Regions from separate parts of the Homo sapiens genome. Here region 2 is linked to region 1. Evidence: promoter capture Hi-C in human tissues and cell types (Jung and others, 2019). All regions are on one chromosome and are shown on one strand. Each heading gives the region's core, a stretch centred on a gene start or on the middle of the fragment in contact. The rest is flanking DNA. Distances are from core to core; before and after follow the strand shown. Region 1 holds the start of NETO1 (neuropilin and tolloid like 1). Region 2 has its middle 55 kb from the start of NETO1-DT.

Evidence for each region. Contacts are between HindIII fragments. The study calls those that stand out against the background at their distance.
Region 2: a contact is called between a fragment that was not itself captured here and the fragment with the promoter of NETO1 in region 1, in 1 of the 25 tissues and cell types used here (adrenal gland).

Annotation. Positions count from the first base shown.
Region 1 is chr18:72,866,737-72,869,551 of GRCh38, reverse strand. It overlaps NETO1 (neuropilin and tolloid like 1), which reads left to right and starts at 1,565. Exons shown (of 11, transcript NM_138966.5): 1 at 1,565-2,288. The coding sequence starts at 2,261. NETO1-DT (NETO1 divergent transcript) reads right to left here and starts at 1,164. Exons shown (of 2, transcript NR_134648.1): 1 at 1,090-1,164. The HindIII fragment of the contact is 16,969 bases long and covers 1-2,815 here.
Region 2 is chr18:72,922,179-72,924,993 of GRCh38, reverse strand. No RefSeq gene overlaps it. Among named protein-coding and RNA genes, the nearest start is that of NETO1-DT, 55 kb to the right of the region's middle. The HindIII fragment of the contact is 6,337 bases long and covers 1-2,815 here.

The DNA of each region.
Region 1 (2,815 bases), core at 316-2,815:
AAATCGAGGAACCAGCACTTTGGTGTGGTGGTAGGAGGCTTGGGGGCGCGTGTGAGACTCTGAATCCCTTCCAGACTTGGGGGTCACCTCATCGTCCCTCATCCCAACTTACTGGCAGGAGACCTCCACCCACTCACAGCCGCTGCGCTAGGCGTGGGCAGGACTGCGACGAGCACCCAACGCCCCGCGCAGCCCCGCGCGCACGTGGGCGCCCCAGCAGCAGGTGCCGGGAAGCGGAGGCCGGGCCAGAGCCGGGAGGCAGCCCCCCGGCCTCGAGCGCTCGCCAGACTCTTCTCATGGCCCTTTCTCCTTTCCTCGGCCTTTCGGGGCCACCCTAGTCTTCACAGCTCAGCGTCTGCTGCTGACCCCCCGCCCCCCGGCGACCCCGCCATTGCCATTAGCTCTTCCTACCCCGGCTTCTTCGCCGCCACAGTCCCCAACCCAAGCCCCAGCCGCGGCGCGGGTGTGGGTGGCCGGACGGGATGGCTTCCGTAGTCCCGGGGTCCGGCGGGCTCGGCTGTGGTCTGCGTGGGTCGCGTCCGCAGAGGCCGAGGGAGGGCGGGACGGAGCCGGGAAAGGGAGGAGGTGCCGTTGCGGCGCCCAGGGAGGGACTCCCTGCACCCCCGCGCGCTCCAGCCCTTCCCGGCGCTGCCTCGCGGTTGCCCTTATTTCGTATTCATTGATTCGCATTTTACAAGCCCGGGCTCTTCCGGTGCTGTTTCCCCGCAACTCGTGTCTCCCAGACTTTAACGCGCCGCGCGAGCCTGTAGGAGGAAGTGGCGCGGGGGAACGGGGGTCCGTGTGTGCCTTGGGGTGGTTTTAAATACCTCGAGGTGGGGGGCTCAATTGCAAGAAGCCCGCGTCTTTGCAGGAGTAATTTGGTGGGGGGACTGGACATCAGGCCCAGTGCTCAACCGCGAAACTTTTACGGCCGCCTTTCCCTGGGGCGCGCCCCTGCCGTGTCTCCCAAGCTGAGCGCGGAGTCCGCGGCGAAACCTGCGCCCCAGGGAGGGAGGGAGAGGGGGCGCCCAGTTCCTTTACGCGGATGGAAAAGAAGGGGTGGGAGGCAGAGAGCCCGCAAGGTCTAACCTTTAAAAAGTGAAACACCAAACCCCACAAGGGATTTTCACACGAAGGCCCCTCCCGCTTCCACGCCTTCCGTCCGGCACGAGGATCCGGCTCGGGATTTGCGGCTGCATCCTCTCTCTGCGCCCTGGCGGGCCGAGCCGCGGATCCCAGCCGGGTCCTCACCCCCTCCCCGCCCCTCCCCCAGATCCGCGCGGCTGGGATGTCCTTGCTGCCGCCGCCGCGGCCCCATTCTGCCGCGCACCAGCCCCGGGGCGCCGGCCGCGCGCAGCCTCGCTATCCCACCCAGGCTCCGGGCTTCCAGGAGGGTCGTGGAGCCCCAAGCCATGACTAAGGAGCCCATTTGGTAACTCTGCCCTCTTCCGGCTCCTTTCTCCTCCCTCCCTTCCCCGCCCCCCGGCCCCCCCCCCGGCCGCCCCGCTCCCCTGCACCGCCCTCCAGCCCGCCTCCCAGACGCCCACCCACCCGCTCCTCTTTCCGCAAGATAGCAGAGGTGGCGCGCAGCCCGGCGAGCCGATGACGGACCCCTTCTTCCTGCCTTCAATGCCTCAGCGGAAGATCCCCAAGGGCTGGAGCGAGGAGCGCTGCCGCTGGACATCCTCCCGGGGAGGCTGCTCCGACCTGCTGCGCGGCGCGTCTGAGACTGGGGACTGAGCCACCCCGCCGCCGCCGGCGCCGCCGCCGCCGCCCGCTCCGTCGCTGCCGTCGGTCTGGACTGGCCCCCACCTCGCTGCGCCCTCTCCCCGGCCCCGGCCCCGGCTCGGGGCGTCCCGGGGCTCGCCCTGCGACCGCCGCCTCCCGCGCGCCGCGTCCTCCCGACCCCGCGGCGGCGACGATGCCCGGGAGGAGGGTCCTGACGGCGGCGGCGCGGATGGTGGCGGCCGGCGCCCGGGTGTGATGCGAGCGTCACGGTGGGGATGCTGCTGGCTGCGCGGCGCTGAGGGCCAGCGAGAGCGAGAGCCCGCCCGGGGCGGAGGACGGACTCATCCGGATCTGGCTGCAGCGTGGGCTCGGAGCTCCCCCTTCCTCTCGGTCTCCCTCTCGGCCCCCCTTTATTTCCTTCTTGCTTTGCGTCTTTAACACCTCTCGACCCTGTCCTCCCCCCGCCACTGGAAGTCTTCCCGTCTCTAAATGGAATTAGTGGAGCCCGGAGCCTCTGGTGTAACGCACAGACATGATCCATGGGCGCAGCGTGCTTCACAGTGAGTACCCTCCCCGCCGCGCCCGTGCGCTCCCGGAGCCAGCCCTCCCGCCCCTTTCCCGGGGCCGAACGCGCAGGAAAAGCCTCTGCGCCGCGCTCCGGCGGACCCTGCAGTCCCGCGCGGGTCGGGGCCGACGTAAACTTTCTGTATTGCAGCATCGTGGAACCGGGCGTGGGGGCGGCGCGCGGTCAGCCGTCGCCGGATCCCAAAACCTGCCGGAGAACGGTCTTTCAGTGCGCAGGAACCCCCCGGGGGTGGAGGATAGCGTGCAGTTCAGGGATGGACACGTGCGGCAGAGATTGGCCCAAGCGAGGGCGCAGGTGGAAAGCGGGAGAGCGCGGATGATACCTAGTGGGGCCAGAGGAGTCTTCCTCTTCTAGGGGCTCCCGGAGCTCGGCGGGCCCCTGTTCGCAGTACAGGAGGTAGCAGAAGGCACACCTGAAGCCAGCGCTGGAGGGAAGGGCGAGGGTCAGCTTCCACCCCTTTCCGCCCTGGAGACCGCTGATGTCGCTTTATGGGTGTGTGGT
Region 2 (2,815 bases), core at 128-2,627, 56 kb before region 1:
TTTCCTGAGGCCTCCCAGTTATGCTTCCTGTTAAGCCTGTGTAACTATGAGCCAATAAAATCTCTTTTCTTCATAAATTATCCAGTCTCAGGTAGTTCTTTAATAGCAGTATGAAAATGGACTAATACAGAAAATTTGTGGCAGGAGTTGGGCACTGCTACAAAGATACCAGAAAATGTGGAAGTGACTTTGGAACTGGGTAATGGGTACAAGTTGGAACAGTTTGAAGGATTCAAAAGAAGACAGGAAGATGTGAGAAAGTTGGGAACTTCCTAGAGACTTGTACCAAAGTGCTGATAGTGATATGGACAATGGAGTCCAGATTGAGATGATCTCAGATGGAGATGAGAAACTTATTGGGAATTGGAGTAAAGATCGTTCTTGCTATGCAGAGACTGGCAGCATTTTCCCCCTGCCTTAGAGATCTGTGGAACTTTGATGATATATGACATCTGATGAAAGAAATTTCTCAGCAGCAAAGTGTTCAAGATTTGGCCTGGCTGCTCCTAAGTGCATAAAGCTATATGCATTAACAAAGAGATGGTCTGAAATTGGAAGTTATGTTTAAAAGGGAAGCAGAGCATAAAAGCTTGGAAAATTTGAAGCCTGACCATGTGGTAGAAAAGAAAACCCATTTTCTGGAGAGCAATTCAAGCCTGCTGCAGAAATTGGCATAAGTAAAGAAAAGCTGAATGTTAATCCCAAAGACAACAGTGAAAATATCTTCAGGGAATGTCAGAGATTATCACAGCAGCCCCTCCCATCACAGGCCCAGAGGTCTAAGAGGGAAAAATGGTCTTGTGGGCAGGGCCTAAGGCCCTGCTGCTCTGTGCAGCCTCAGGACATGGCACCCTGAATCCCAGCCATTCTAGCTCCAGCCATGGCTAAAAAGGGTCAAGGTGCAGCTCAGGCTGTGGCTTCAAAGGGTGCAAGCCCCGAGTCTTGGTGGCTTCCACATGGTGTTGGGCCTCCAGGTGTTGGAAGGCAAGAGTTTTTGAACCTCCACCTAGATTTCAGAGGATGTATTTGCATCCTCTGAAACCTGGATTTGCAGGCAAAAGTCAGCTACAGTGGTGGAGCCCTCATGGAGAACTTCTGCTAGGGCAATGCAGAGGGTAAGTGTGGGGTTCAAGTCCCCACACAGAGTCCTCACTGGGGCATTGCCTAGTGAAGCTATGAGAAGCGGACCACCATCCTCTAGACACCAGAATGGTAGATCTACCAACAGCTTGAACTGTGAGCCTGGAAAAGCCACAGACACTCAATGCCAGCCCATGAAAGTAGCCATGGGGCAGAGTCACAGGGCTGGAGATACTCAAGGCCATTGGAGCCTATCCCATGCATCACCATGCCCTGGATGTGAGACATGGAGTCAAAGGAAAGTTTTTTCAAATTTTAAGATTTACTGTGTACCCTGCTGGATTTGAGACTTGCTTGGGGCCTATGGCCCCTTTGTTTTGGTCAATTTCTCACATGTGGAATGGGAATATTTACCCAATCCCTGTACCCCCATTGTATCTTGGAAGTAACTAACTTGCTTTTGATTGTACAGGCTCATTGGTGGAAGGGACTTCCCTTGTCTCAGATGAGACTTTGGACTTGGACTTTGGGGTTAACTCTGGAGTGAGTTAAGACTTTGGGGGACTGTTTGGAAGGCATGATTGTGATTTGAAATGTGAGAAGGACATGATATTTGGGAGAGGCCAGTGGTGGAATGACATAGTTTGGCTCTGTGTCCCCACCCAAATCTTATCTTGAATTGTAATCCCCACATGTTAGGGAAGGGACCTGGTGGGAGGCGATTGAATAATGGGGGCAGACTTCCTCCATGCTATTCTCATGATAGTGAGTAAGTTCTCATGAGAACTGGTTGTTTGAAAGTGTGTGGCACTTCCCCTTTTGCTCACTCTCTCTCTTCTGCTGCTGCCGCCATGGTAAGAAGTGCTTGCTTCCCCTTCACCTTTCCCCATGATTTAAGTTCCCTGAGGCCATCCAGTTGTGAGTCCTGTTAACCCTGCAGAAAAGTGAGTTAATTAAACCTCTTTTCTTCATAAATTACCTAGTCTCAGATATTTCCTTATAGTAGTGTGAAAATGGACTAATTCGCATACCTTATTTTTTATTACTGGAGTTTTGCCTTATAATATACACTTTTCTTCCTGGGTTTTTTTCTTTGATGATAGTCTATGAGATCTCACAATTTCTCTATTTCCTTATCAAAGAGGACACTCCATTTTTCTTATAAAAAATCAGAAAGCATCCCTTTCCTGCATGATGCAGAGTTTGCCGCAGCCTTGGGGTATTTCTCTTGCTCCTACGGATTATTTCTGTACGTCTAACTCAGACCCTATATCAATTCCTACAAATCTCACTTCCCAGTACCCTCTCAACTCTTCTGCAAAAAGCTGCTAAATTCAAATTCTTTCCATTTTTTCTGAGTCTTCTCTGCAGCAGATCTCTGAGCCTTTATATTTCTATGCCTTCATCTTGAAATATCATCAATATATGGCTGAGTAATAGCAGATAGTGGATATTTCAAGAAAAATATGCATTCCCTAAGATTGCTGTTTGATGTGCAAGAGCGTCATCCAGATGGGCTCTGTCCTTGGCTCTTTATTTTAATATTTTATCATTTACTTCTAGGATGTAAAATGCCAGTTAAACAAATACTTTGATAGTAGAAAACTAGTAGGCCGTCATGTAGAATTGTAACAAAAGTATTTGTAATGCTCTTTGAAAATGAAAATGAAAGGCCAAATAAGAAATAGAAAATGTAATAGGAAAGAAGTGTCTAATCATATATAGATAGTGTATG